Regions from separate parts of the Homo sapiens genome. Here regions 1 and 2 are each linked to region 3. Evidence: promoter capture Hi-C in 16 types of primary human blood cells and fetal thymus (Javierre and others, 2016). All regions are on one chromosome and are shown on one strand. Each heading gives the region's core, a stretch centred on a gene start or on the middle of the fragment in contact. The rest is flanking DNA. Distances are from core to core; before and after follow the strand shown. Region 1 holds the start of ZNF616 (zinc finger protein 616). Region 2 has its middle 26 kb from the start of ZNF577. Region 3 holds the start of ZNF677 (zinc finger protein 677).

Region 1 (4,805 bases), core at 2,048-4,547, 1.1 Mb after region 3:
CATTCCACCAGTTCCGGTGGTATTTTGTCTTTTAGCCTTGGCACTCCAGTTATACTTTCTCTTGCGCTTGGCAGCGTAGCCACATTTGCCACAGGTCGACTTCTGAAGGTGGTAGGCCTTAGAGCCACGGCGGCAACACAACGTGTGCGTCTTATTGCGACGCTTTCCAAACAATGACGTTCCCTTCGTCATCTGGCTTCTGCGGCCAAGACCAGAGAGACCGGAAGAGAAGGCACTTCCGCTATATCACGCTCAGAAGCTCAACATTCCGTGTTGAATTAGAGTCTGAGCCGAGATGGCATTACTGCACTACTGCTTGGGTGACCGGAGCCAGACACTGCCTCAAAAAAAAAAATTCTCCCAGGCTCAAGCAATTTCCAACCTCAGCCTTCCAACTAGCTTGGACTACTGGTGCACACCATTACCCTTGGCTAATTTTTGTATTTTTTGTAGAGATAGAGTTTTGTAATGTTGCCCAGGTTGCTCTTGAACTCCTGGGTTCAAGCAATCTGCCCACCTCAGCCTCTCTCAATGTGCTGGGATTACAGGCGTGAGCCACTGCACCCTGCCTTGTTCCTTTACTTGCTTAGTAAACTTGCTTTCACTTTACAGTGTGAACTCACCCCTAATTCTTTCTTGCATGAGATCCAAGAACCCTCCCTTTTGGTTGTAACTGCCCAACAGGTTCTCCTTCCCTGCTGCCTAGACAGAGCTGATTCATCAAGACAGGGGAATTGCAAGAGAGAGTTTAATTCATGTGGAGCTGGCTGTACAGGAACCTGAAATTTTTTTATTACTCACATGAGTCTCCCTGAAAACTCGGGGATCAGGGTTTTTAAGGATAATTTGATAGGTAGGTGTCAGTGAGTCGGGAGTGCTGATTGGTTGGGTAGGAGACGAAATCATAGAGATCTGAAGCTGTCATTTTGCACTGAGTCAGTTCCTGGGTGGGGTCACAAGACCAGATGAGCCAGTTTATGGATCTGGGTTGGTGTCAGGTGATCCATCAAGTGCAGGGAATGCAAAATATCTCAAGCACTGATCTTAGGTTTTATAATAGTAATGTTATCCCCAGGAACAATCTGGGAAGGGTGAGAATCTTGTAGCCTCCAGCTACATGACTCCTAAACCATCATCTCTCACCTTGTGCCTAATTTGTTAGTCTTACAAAGGCAGTCTAGTCCCCAAGCAGGAAGGGGGTTTGTTTTGGGAAAGGGCTGTTAATGTCTTTGTTTCAAACTATAAACTAAGTTCCTTCCAAAGTTAGTTCAGCCTATGCCCAGGAATGAACAAGAGCAGCTTGGAGGTTAAAAGCAAGATGGAGTTGATTAGGTCAGATCTCTTTCACTGTAATAATTTTCTCAGTTATAATTGTGCAATGGAAGTTTCAGGTTCTGGATCAGGACCCCTTTCTGGTAACACAAGGATGGTTATGAATGCATCCAGATATCCAAAAAGTTATCTCTGAAAGCCAGAGATTTCCTTTCCCTATGGGTTCTTCCCTTGCATGTCAACCCAAGGATTCACTGGGGACCTAGAATTGTGCAGGGCAGTTAGGAAGAGAGAGACAAAAGAGAGAAGAGGTGAAGTAGTTTTGAAGAAGAGAAAGAAGGTCCCATGCAGCCTCAGTTTTTTTTCCAACAAACTTTTCATGCTGGGAAATAGGATCCTGGTTTATTTGTGGGAGGGATTTTATAGGAGGGTGAGAAAAAAATGCCCTTTGAGGGTAGAGTCTGTGGAGCCCTAATTGGGGAAAAGGAGTCAGCCTGAAAGGACCAGGAGAAAGCAAAGAGATAAAGCAAATAAGCTATAAATCTTTCTTCATGGTCCAGAACATATAAAAAAAAATAGAGGAAGCAGATAAGCTGTAGGTCTCTTTTTCTTTATGGCCAAGGACATATGGCCTTTCTGTGGAAAGAACGTAAATAAGTCACAAACTTTCTGCTTTCATTTATCATCAAACGCCTCAGCTAACAGAAGAATGCAAGTTAGCTCCCTGCTACCTTGGCCTCCCAAAGTGTGGGGATTATAGGCGTTAGCCACTGCACCCAACCAAATCTCCTCTTCTCATGGCTCACTGCAGCCTTCACCTCCTGGGCTCAAATGATCCTCCTTCCTTACCCTTCCGAGTTGCTGGGCCCACACGTGCAGGCCACCATGTCCAGATAATTTAATTTTTTGTAGAGAGGTCTGGCTATGTTGCCCAGGATGATCTCAAATCCCTGGCCTCAAGCAATTCTGACACCTCAGCTTCCCAAGTAGCTGGGACTACAAGAGTGCATTACCAAGCCTGGCTACTTTTTGTATTTCTTGTAGAGATGGGGGTCTCACGATGCTGTCCAGGCTGGTTTTGAACTCTTGAGCTCAAGTGACCTGCCCACCTGGGCCTCCAAAACTGCTGGCCCATCTCAAAAGACTTAATCCATTTCAGTATCAACTCTCAAAAGTCTTAATCCATTCCTGTATCAGCTCTTAGGGCAGAATACCCCCTAAATATTATCTGAACCACACATGGGTGAGAATCAAGGTGTGATTCATCCTGAGGCAAAATTTCTGCCCAGCTGTGAATCTGTGAGGCCAGAGAAGTTATCTGCTTCCAAAATATAATGGTGATAAAGGCATAGGATACATCCCCCAGCCCTGGTAACCACCCTTCTAATCTGTTACTGTAAATTTGACGTTTGTACTTTGCACGTGTAAAAGCACAGGCAGTATTTGTCTTTCTGTGTCTAGCATATTTCGCTTGGCATAATGTCTTCCGGGTTCCTGGATCCAGCCACGGCTCCACATCAAATCCCCAGCGAGATCCTAGTTCCCTGACTATTGAGTAGCTTCAGCATCATCGGCAAGAGTGGATGGAGTCCACCAAGCTTGTAAAAATCGGTTTTGACTTAGTTCAACTTGTTAAGAAATCATCTTAGTTTCTAATATAAGTGGACCACAACTTTAAGCTTTAACCTTAAATTTTGAAACATTAACTTAAAATAGGCAGGCAGCAACGCTGCTTCACAGGACAAGAAGTAGTCAGAAAACCAAAGACATGCTGCCTGTGAACCAGAGTAAATAACAGGCTCTATTTCGGCCCCGCTTACCCCATGAAACCCCGCCCCATCCTCCGCCGCGGCTCCGTCCCGCCCCACCTAGCCACGCCCACTGCCGCTCCGGCCCGGCTCCACCCTCTCAGGGTCCCTCCCCGAGTCAGGCCCCTCTTTCCGACCCGCCCCTTGCTGGTCGCGGCTCGCCCAGGCCCCGCCCCCTGGCCTCCCAGTTTTTTCTCTCCGCTAGCAGTTTCCGTCACTCCCGGAAGCAGATTGCGCCAGGGAAAGGCCTTATCGCTGTGTGTGTGTTTCAGTCTACGTGGATTAAACATTACTTCGCTCCGTCTGCCTGGATTAAACGTGCACTTTGCAGTCCTCACTTCTCCGTACCAGTGATCTGGGGATCGCTACGGACCTTAAAATACCCATAGCCCCTTCGCCCCTGCAACAGGCACTTCTCCCCACGTAAGTCCGAGAATTGCTTCCCTGTCGGTTTAAAATCTCTCTCAGGCTGTTCCTTGCCCCCTGCCTTTCTGCCATGTAGATAACCATGTCGATAACCCCATTCAGGTCGTGTTCCTGCTTAAAACTCTCATTGACCCCTGCTTCGGCCCCGGGCGAAGTCAAGTCCTCCCTCGCGAGGTGGATTCCCACCAGTCGAGACCCCCGAGCTTCGCCCTTGTCGACGCCTGGAGGGGAGCGCCCGCTGCCCAGCTCCTGAAGGAGCCGCTTCTTCTCCCAGGTCCTGGGATTCTGCAGACCCTCCCTGTCCTGAGACACCGTCCCCCGCGCCACCTAGTGTCCTCCGCGCGCCACCTAGTGTCCTCCTCACGCCGGGTCCTTCCCCTCCCCAGGCTGCCCCTTCACAGCCACTGCTTTTCCTGACTCCGCGTTGCAGGAGGTCACCCGAGTCTGTCTTGTGACACCCACTGTCGTTCCTTCCCAAATTTTTACTCCACTGGAAAATGTGCTCTTCCGGGAGGTGGGCATCGTATTCCTCCCCTTTCCTCCTGAATGTGTGGGTGAGAGGGATCAGGAGAGGAAAAGAGGGGGAGCGACGGGACAGAAAGAAAAACTGGGGAGAAAAGAATGAGTACACGGCAAAATGGATGATAATTTAGGTACTGGCAAAGAGAGCAAGAGTGCAAGAGGACGCATGGAGAAAGTAGCACGGGGAGAAAAGCACATAAAGAAATTAGGGAAAAGGGAGAGCTTCAGGGAGCTGAAGGGCAGCAAAATAGAGAGGGGCGGCAAAGGAGGAGGCACTGCAGTCAGACGCGGGGGGCGGAAAAGGTAAGAGTCGGAGCCGCGGCTGACAGAGCCACGTGGTGCTGGGACTGAAGGAGAGGGGAGTGGGTAACAAAGGAGAGTAGAGGGAGAACCACAGCAAGGAGGAAGCCTAGGAAGTTGGGGGTGCTAGAGAGTGGGAACAAAGGAGATGTAACAGGGAAAAGGGAATTTAACAGGGAAGAGGGATTTTAACAGGGAGAGCAGACAGGGAGCTCAGATGGGGGAAAAGAGGCAGGAATACGTGGCGGCTGGGGACAATGGGAAAGTTTGGGGAGAAAGAGCAACAAGAGGTGAAATAAATTTCGAAGCATTGGGCAGAATAGACATAAAAGAGGGAATAAAGAAAGGGGAGAAAAACAGCAAAGGGAAAAAAGACGTGCAGAATGAGAGCGGGAAACACATAGTAGTGAAGAGAGTGGGCGAGGACCCCACCCAGATGAGCTGTGAGTTGATTGGATATGGATGGTGGTTTTAATG
Region 2 (5,108 bases), core at 2,480-4,979, 1.4 Mb after region 3:
TCTACTCCTTTCTCTAACAGTTATTTTCACTCAAGCTTCGATGTCCATTATCTCTTGCCAAAATTATGATAGTTTTCTCTAATATACTCTCAGTCCTTTACTCTTGTTTCTATTCTCCACATAATACCCTTAATGAATTTATTTTACTATTTTCATTTATGAAAATAAATGCGGGAGTCAGGGGCGGGAGTCAGGGGCAGGAGTCAGTGTTTCTAGCCCCTCACCTCCAAAATCCCTGAACATTAAAATAAACATCAGAAACATCTTGGTTCTTAAAAGACTTCAGATTTTGACAAAAGTGTTGCGGAAAGTAATTAAAGCTTCATATAAAAAGGTAAATCTTAGTTGGAGGATGGAAAGATCTAAATTATGGTCTAAAAAATGCTATATGATGTAGCAAATCTGTACTCATTCACAGGGTGCAAGCCTAAAAATATTCATGCCATAATATTTAAGACATGGTCAGTGTTAATTACTGATAAACATACACACAGGATGTTGCTTTTAAATTGGAAATCAGGACATGTCATCCTGCTCCCACTATCATTGGTAATGGCATCCTGTTACTGTTAGCACAAGATCCAAATTCTTTTCAGGATCCTCCTACAAGGGAGCATTCCCTGATTTCGGCCTAAACGTTTTTGTTTACTTATTAATGAAAAATGTTTTGGTATAACATACATATAATGTAATTATACAGCTAGGTAACTTTCTAGTCAGCACACTGTGCAACCAGCACCTAGATCAAGAATCTGAGTCCTGTGCAGAATGGCATTGGGTGAATATTACACTGTTTATCTCTTTTACATTCAGGCCATTATACTTAGTGTCCCTATGTATGTTTTCATCAATATCTTTATTTTTATTTTCTCCTTTTGAAAATGCTTGTCTCCAAATGGTCTAGATTTAATGAGATGTTCCAAAATGATACACAAAATTCTTGCACATTCTTTTTGCAAATTTCCCCAAAATATGATTTTACCAATTTGCTTTATTTTATCTATACACACACACCACACACAGGTACATATGGTTTTTCTGAACTCTACCCTAAAACCCAAGTGTGTATTTCATAGGAAGAAGAGCATTCTTTTGCATAATCAGAATACTGTGATCAAAATCAGAATATTGACATTGATATAGTATTATTATTTAAAATACAGAGCTTACTCAAATTTAACCATCTTACTAATATCTTTTTATGGTAAATGGGAAAAGAAGCCTTTTTCTGGACCTCTTCTTGTTATCTCACTTACTCTGTTGTGCGTACACTAGCTTTCATAACATCCAGAAGTCAGAGCTTGCTAATTATAACCAATTCTTTTTGGAAAGAAATCATATGGATGCAGTGAATGTGCAGTGAATACTTGTAAACTACTCATGACCATGCCTCAGAGAACTCATGCAGGAAACAAATCCCAGGAATCTCATGATTTTAGGAGAGCCCTTCCCAGTGAGTTAAAGCTCATTGCTCATCAGCAAACTCAAACAGGAGTGAGACCCTACTGATGCAATCAATGTCAAAAAGCCTTCATTACAAATTCAGGGCTTGTGTATCATCAGAAAACTCATCATAGAGAAGGGAAAGTCTGTACATGCAGCAAATGTGGAGAAGTTTTCCCTTGGAAGTCAGAACTCATTTTATGTCAAAGAAATCATTCAGGAGAGAGACCGTTCATTTGCAAAGTATGTGATAAAGGCTTTGTGGTTAGGACACATCTCACTGTACATCAGAGAGCTCACACAGGAGAGAAACCATATGCTTGCTCAGATTGTGAAAAAGCCTTCTCAAAAAAGGCTTTATTCATGATTCATCAGTGAATTCACACAGGAGAGATACCCTATTAATGCATTCAATGTCAAACAGCTTTGAAGACCAGATCTGAGCTCAGTTATCCTCAGAAAGTTCTTCATAGAAAAGGAAAATTCTATGGATGCAGTAAATGTGGGAAAGCTTTTCCTTGGAAGTCGAACCTCATTTTGCATCTCAGAACTCATTCAGGAGAGAGACCTTTCAGGTGCAAAGTCTATCATAAAGCCTTCATGGTTAGAACACAGCTAACTATACATCAGAGAACTCACACAGGAGAGAAACCATATGCTTGCTTGGATTATGAGAAAGCCTTCTTGAAAAAGGCTCAGCTTATGAAGCATCAGTGAATTCATACAGAAGAAAGACCCTATGGATGCAGTGAATGTCAAGAAGCTTTCATCTGGAAGTTGGATCTCAACAATCATAAGAAAACTCATCATGCAGTAAGGAAATCCCATGAATGCAGTGAATGTGGGAAGGTTTTATCCTCCAAAAAAAACTTTGTTATACATCAGAGAACCCATACAGGTGAGAAACCCTTCAAATGCAATGTATGTGATAAAGCCTTCACATCAAAGGGAAATCTCATTGTATATCAGAGAACTCATATAGGAAATAAATCATATGAATGCTCAGACTGTGATAGGGCCTTCTCCAGTAAGGTATATCTCATGACTCATCAGCCAATTCACACAGGAGAGAGACCCTATGATGCAATGAAGGTCAACAAGCTTTCACCCAAAAGACAGGTCTCAGTAAGCATCGAAAAACTTGCCATGCAAGAATGAAATCTTATGGATACAGTGGATGTGGGAAGGTTTTGTCCTGTAAGTCAACTCTCATTATATAACAGAGAACCTATACAGGTGAGAAACTCCTCAAATGTAGCATGTGTAATAAAGCCATCATAGTTAAATCCTGTCTCACTGTACATTAGAGAATTCATACAGGAGAGAAACCATATAAATGCAGTGATTGTAAGAAAGCATTCGCTACTTTGTAAACTCTCATTGGTCACCAGAGAACTCACACAGGAAAGAGGCCCTATAGATGCAGTGAATGTCAAAAAGCTTTACTCAGAAATCAGCTATTACTAATCATCAGAAACCCCAGCAGGAAGGAAGAAAGTCCATGCAGTGACTTGGAATATGAGAGAGCTTTTTTGATTAGTCACATCAGCTCAGACACAATAGAAGTTCCATGAATACTATGATTGTAATGGGCCCTTTTGGAACTCTTGTGGGAGAGAAACCTTATAGATGCAATGAATATTTTAAGCCTTCTTTTTTGAAGATATCCCTCGTTTACCGTAGAGATCTCACAAGAAGAATCATTGGCCAGGCGCATTGGCCCATGCCTGTTATCTCAGCACTTTGGGAGGCTGAAGCAGGCAGATCACTTGAGGTTGGGAGTTCGAGACCAGCCTGGCCAACATGATGAAACCCTGTCTCTACTAAAAATACAAAAAAAAAAAAAAACAAATAGCCAGGTGTGGTGTGCACACCTGTAATCCTAACTACTCAGGAGGCTGAGGCAGGAGAATCTCTTGAACCTAGGAGGTGGAGGTTGCAGTAAGCCGAGATTGCACCAGTGTACTCCAGCCTGGGTGACAGAGTGAGACTCTGTCTCAAAAAAAAAAAAAAAAAAAAAAAGAGAGAGTCAATTATGAGTGCAGTGATTGTCAAAAAAGTTTATTAGAAAACTAGAAGCTTTCCATTTAGTAGGCAGCACCAGTGGATGTAATGAAAATGATAAATCATTCTCAAATTATATTTGTTACACATTAGGGTATTCATTCAGGAGAAGGACCCTACAGATGGAGGGAATGCAGGAAAGCTAAGAAGAATCACACCTCATTGCAGGTAAAAATTAAAATCTGAAAGTCAAAACTCTTTGAATATCTTGTTTACGAGAGAAATCTCATAGATACAGTGAATGTGATTGTGATAAAGTCTTCCCAGTTAATGTTTATCTTTCTTGTTATAGCAAACTCATACAAGAGGAAACCCCTATTAATATAGTAAATGTGGTAAAGCCTTCATGTAGATACCAAAGGTCACTAATTATATCAGCAAACTCATGTGGTAGATAGGTCCTTCTGAAACGGAATGTGGAAAGCTTTTGAAAGTGACATATACATCAGATACTTAAATCAGAAGGGAAAACGATAGAGTTAAACTTGGCCATTGGCCACAAAACCCATTGCATAGCAGGAAAGAATTGCAGTGATTGTCTAAAATTCTTTATTTAAAATTCAGAGCTGAATTGCCCCCTAACTCAGTTATCAGAAAGATCCTATTCTCGAAGGCAATAATATTTAGGTTCAATGCAGGTATAAAATCCTAATGGAGCCATATCTATTCTGCTTCAGCAGAGTCATACATTTACCTAAAAGCAATGGTTCTGGTCACAGGAAATAATTTCTGTGGAGGATTAGATAGCATTAAACATCACAAGCTTTTAAATATAGGAGCAGAATTTGCTCCATACAGAGATTTTATGAATGCAGTGAAAGTGGTAAAAGCATCAGTGATAAGTTATTTTTTATTTCATGGATTCACTTCTTCACATCCTACCATGTCTTAAATTGTGAAGCATCTTATGATCTGGAATGTCATAGTAATTGTCAGGGCTTTTTAAATGTGTGATGGCACTTTAGATTTGAGTAATTACCCTTGCCTGTATATATAATTTTATAATGGTTTTGCATAATTATTATAGAAAGGATTCCAGAGAATATTCTATAAATATTAGACATTTCATTGTCAAATATTCCTTTTGAATATATGAAAAATAAGAATATAATAAGGATTAGTCGAATAGTGACAAAGGATCTTAGGGGTTGTGTTGTGGACTGTACTATGTGACATGTACTTTATATATTTATAAACTTCATTGTTTACTTGGAATTACACGAAGAAACAATTTTCAGGGTTAAAGAAATTCTCAACATAAGACAAAATGTTGAATAATTCAATGTAGTGCAAATAAAATGTTTTTTTCTTATGAATCAAAATGTCTTGTAATACATATTTGACTCATTATTAAGGAGTCTAAAGGATTATACCACGTAAGTGTGAATTCCTTATTTTTGCTGTCATTTGTAGTATTTTTGCCCACTGTGATGATCCATCACAAGTAGAAGTTTACATTTTTCTAGAGCCTTATAACTCTGAAACATCCAAAGATTATAAAAGATTTACCTAAAATATTTAAAAACCAGCAACACATTAGAGTAATGGAAGAAAAAAGTGTGAGGTTATATGAGGTGAGTTTATGGCTATATATTTCAAGT
Region 3 (4,347 bases), core at 1,836-4,335:
TTGGCAACGGGCGTCTTCCCACACGCTGGCGTTACCCCTAGACCAAGGAGCCCTCTGGTGGCCCTGTCTGGGCGTAACAGAAGGCTCGCGCTCTTGTCTTCTGGTCACTTTTCACTATGTCTCCTCAGCTCCTATCTCTGTATGGCCTGGCTTTTCCTAGGTTATGATTATAGAGCGAGGATTATTATAATATTGGAATAAGAGTAATTGCTACCAACTAATGATTAATGATATTCATATATAATCATGTCTATGATCTAGATCTAATATAACTCTTGTTGTTTTATATATTTTATTATGCTGGAACAGCTCGTGCCCTCGGTCTCTTGCCTCGGCAGCTGGGTGGCTTGCTGCCCACAAATAGGAAGATCATTCCAATTTTCAGGTCCACAGAGGCCATTCTGTCATTTTCCAGCACTCAATATTGAGTAAGCAGAAGGTTCTGCATGGCAACACGAGTTGTGGGCCACATTTTCATGGAAAATAACCTTTCACTTATGACGATTTCTTCCCCCTGAATATTAAAAGTGAAATATATAGAGAGATATATTGTTAACAAATTTCCCATTTCGTGTATTTCTTTTTACAGCACCTACAATGTATGAGTGACTTTTATAAATGCTGTACCTATTCTGACATTTAATATTCACAACTCCATGAGGTAGGAATTCATATTATTCTCCTTTCACCAACTCTAAAAGAGTTTAAGCACAAGGAGATTAGGTGACTCATTTAAATACCAGAAGAGTGAAGATTTGAACGTGAGTAGCCTGGTTGCAGTAACATTGGTGTTCACTACTACGCTATAATAGTTGCCTAGTTGTGTCCTTTATATATCTATACACACATATATATACATATACACACACACATACATACACGCACACCTACATATGTATAAATATTTGTCATGTTCACTTTATAAATTTGGTTTGATAATTTCCTATTTTTGTCAAAGTATTTATTCTACATATCAATATAACTTATGAGTGAATATTCATAGGTCTTGATAAGTTATAATAGGCACTAAATAATTTCATATGACCCAATGTATTTAATGTGAGTAGATGTTAAGATACCAGCAGAAACACTCATTTCACTGTCTGCAAAGACTAAAAATACTACGGCACCCATCACGGAAATTAATGTACAACATTAGGTAGAGTGTGCACTAAAATATGAGACATGAAACATAAAAGGTGATAAAGCATTTTAGGCTAGAAAACGAATCATTTTAAAGATTATGTAACTATATATTTATTATTTTAAAACAACTAACTGAAACTTGAATTAATATTTGATTTGGGAAACCTATGAAAATATAATAATTCTGCAAAATGGAATTTGAAAGTATGGAATCTTGTGCATTTAATACATTGAAAAGAGAAAGAGGCTGGGCGCTGTGGCTCACACCTGTAATCCCAGCACTTTGGGAGGCCAAGATGGGTGGGTCACAAGGTCAAAAGATCGAGACATCGTAGCTAATACGGTGAAACCCCGTCTGTACGGGTGAGACTCCGTCTCAAAAAAAAAAAATTTAAATACATATATGTATTTTTATATGTAAAATAAATAGAATTTTTATATGTGTATGTTTATATGTAAATAACATATATGTATTTTTATGCTAAAATGCACTCTCATTTTTTTTTCACCCTTCACCTGTTATCAGATGTAATTCCCAGTTACGAAAACAGAGACCCAAAGAGACAGTGGATAGACCTTGGTTTACTCAGATACCCCCATATGGGCTCATCTTCTCTTGGGGAGCCTCCAGTCAATAAGTTTCCTCTCTGGGCCCAAGAGAAATCAATTCAGTTGGCCAGGAGAATTGCCAAGCACATATTATGTTAAAAATACTCTTCCAAATAACTGAGAATAAAGACTTTACAGACTAAAGGCCAGGAGCGGTGGCTCACGCCTATAACCCCAGCACTTCATGAGGCCCAGGTGGGCGGATCACATGAGCTCAGGGGTCCCAGACCAACCTGGCTAACGTGGTGAAACCCCGTCTCTACTAAAAATGCAAAAATTAGCCAGGCATGGTGGCACACGCCTGTAGTCCCAGGTACTCGGGAGGCTGAGGCAGGAAAATCGCTTGACCCAGGAGGCGTAGGTTGCCGTGAGCCGAGATCGCGCCATTACAATCCAGCCTGGGAAACAGAGACTCCATCTCAAAATAATAATAAAAATAATAATAACGATAGTATATTAGTAATTAATAACTTAGACAAAACACAACATACCAACTCCAATAAATCCAGCACTTGGATTTGTAATTTATCTCAAGAAATGTGCATTAGGATAATAAAGGAAAATAAATTTAGATCGATACAAGCAGAACTTTGCGTTCTTTTAAAGCCAAGCCTCAGCCTTCCACCCCCCACCGCCCAGGGTCTGACCCCATAAATTCTCTGGAACTCAGCCCATGGTGCATCTCTGCCTCCTGGGTGACTGGGGAGCGGAAATAAAAATTACGTTCCAGTGAAAGTCAATATAAAATTGTACACTCCGCACAGGCACAAAAATGCATCTCATTCCAGTTTCCATCACCTACGCAGACAACTCCAGCTTTCGCTTAATTAAATACAAATTTTAATCGTCCGGATTTCAGAAGTTCCTGGATCCAAGAGCTTCCTTATACCGTCGCCCTCTCCCATCCACCAGGTCCCAGCGCTCCTCCCGCCTCGTCGCAGGACGCGCCTCCATCGCTCGCAGAAACGTTTTCAAGCAAACCTTTCCCATCTTAAGCTCCGATTCCAATATAAGGGGCCCACAGGTCTCTAATTTTTTACTTAGCTAGGCTCCAAAGGACACCATAGAGATTCAAGGGAATCCAAAAGTGAAGAATCGAGTACTGCTGGGCGACAAACAGGCCTAAAAAAGTCGCTGGGACGCGCCGAGGAGAGGTCCGGCAGTCCGACCCCTAGGCCCCGCCCATCCCGCCATTGTCCCCGCCCATCCCGCCATTGTCCCCGCCCATCCCCGCCATTTGCCCGCCCATCCCCACAGTTGTCCGCGCCCTGCCCCTGCCCTTGCCCCTTGCGCCGCCCCAGTGCACTCGCGTACGCGCAGGTTCCTGCCGACCCGGAAGCGGATCTCGCGGGGCTACTGGCGCTCTCGGGTGAGTCTCCGTCTTTCGGGTTCAAGCCTGCGCCTCGCGGGCCACAGGTTCCCACGCTCCGCTGTCGGGTTTTGGGGTCGCCCTGTAGGTTAAAACCCCGAACCTGCTCATTCCTCTCGCGGCGTGGCCCTAAGACGTTCCCAGTCCCGTCGCTCCGAGAGGGTCTAGAGATCTGCGTCCATTTCGGATTAAAATCGTTCTGAAGTGGGTACTGGCCCCGACCTTTTTGCTTTAGGTCAGTGTGGACACCGACCGCCCACCGCGTCGTTTCTCTGCTTAAAACTCTTCTCTGACTCCCTCTTCCCTCCCCCTGGTAAAGCCCTCACTCGGGGTGGATACACACCCTTCGCCCTTCTCCAGGGAGAACAGAGGGGAAGCAGAAATGGAGGATAAAGAGGGAGAAATGCGCGAAATTAGAGAGCCATCAGAAACAATAGCAGGGACTGAAAAAAAGGATGCTACCAGGATGGGGCCAAACACTCTGTCAGAGAAGGAGAGGAAGGGAAGCCAAATGAGCAGAAAGGGACAGGAAAACGCCGAAATGGGAAAAAGAAAAGGAAAGAAACAGAAGGTGGAAGAGAAACATTTATAGAGAGGGGGAAAAAAATCACATAATGGTGGAGAAAGGGGGGGGCACCCAAATCCATGTGAGTGTGGATTGATTTAATATGGAACATTAAGTTGTGAAGTACTGATGTATGGCTCTATAATTAATTTAAAATTTGCTTCATTGTTTGTGCAGAAGAGCATGAAAATTGCAAAACTACGGTGTGAGGCTTCTGCGTTTTCTAATTATTACATCAGAAGCAACCCTTATTCAGCCAGAGGGTTAACTGACTTAGCTCAGTTAATTCCAGCTCACCCTCTTCCCTTTCTCTGATCTTGAGGAGAGTCAAGAAATGGGAAGAAACTGTGACACCGTATGCTGCTTTTGCAAACAGACATTAACAATATTATTCCCTCCTTTTTTGTGTGTGGCTTGTGTCATTTTCTAAATTTGACGTGTATTCAACTTGTCTTAAATGTAATTCCATAATTTATTGGATTTAAAAAAAATTTTCAAAGTATTTTCTCTTAAATGTATTGTTCAGCTTATGAGGTTTAAATGCTTTCTTTTGCTTTCTTTTATTTATTTATTTATTTTTTTGAGACGGAGTCTCACTCTGTCACCCAGGCTGGAGTGCAGTGGCTTGATCTCGGCTCACTGCAACCTCCGCCTCCAG

Evidence for each region. The method cuts DNA at HindIII sites, captures the fragments that hold promoters and counts their contacts. A CHiCAGO score of 5 or more calls a contact.
Region 1: a contact is called between the fragment with the promoter of ZNF616 here and the fragment with the promoter of ZNF677 in region 3, in 1 of 17 cell types (M2 macrophages). The highest score is 5.9, in M2 macrophages.
Region 2: a fragment that was not itself captured here is called in contact with the fragment with the promoter of ZNF677 in region 3 in 1 of 17 cell types (total CD4 T cells); the score reaches 5.1 in total CD4 T cells.

Annotation. Positions count from the first base shown.
Region 1 is chr19:52,138,430-52,143,234 of GRCh38, reverse strand. It overlaps ZNF616 (zinc finger protein 616), which reads left to right and starts at 3,297. Exons shown (of 4, transcript NM_178523.5): 1 at 3,297-3,503. It also overlaps the pseudogene RPL37P23. RefSeq lists silencers at 3,002-3,051, 3,062-3,341 and an enhancer at 3,462-3,701. The HindIII fragment of the contact is 2,387 bases long and covers 2,954-4,805 here.
Region 2 is chr19:51,859,471-51,864,578 of GRCh38, reverse strand. It overlaps a transcript of ZNF577 not described here and the pseudogene LOC100419706. Among named protein-coding and RNA genes, the nearest start is that of ZNF577, 26 kb to the left of the region's middle. The HindIII fragment of the contact is 409 bases long and covers 3,525-3,933 here.
Region 3 is chr19:53,253,611-53,257,957 of GRCh38, reverse strand. It overlaps ZNF677 (zinc finger protein 677), which reads left to right and starts at 3,085. Exons shown (of 5, transcript NM_182609.4): 1 at 3,085-3,124. The HindIII fragment of the contact is 13,972 bases long and covers 1-4,347 here.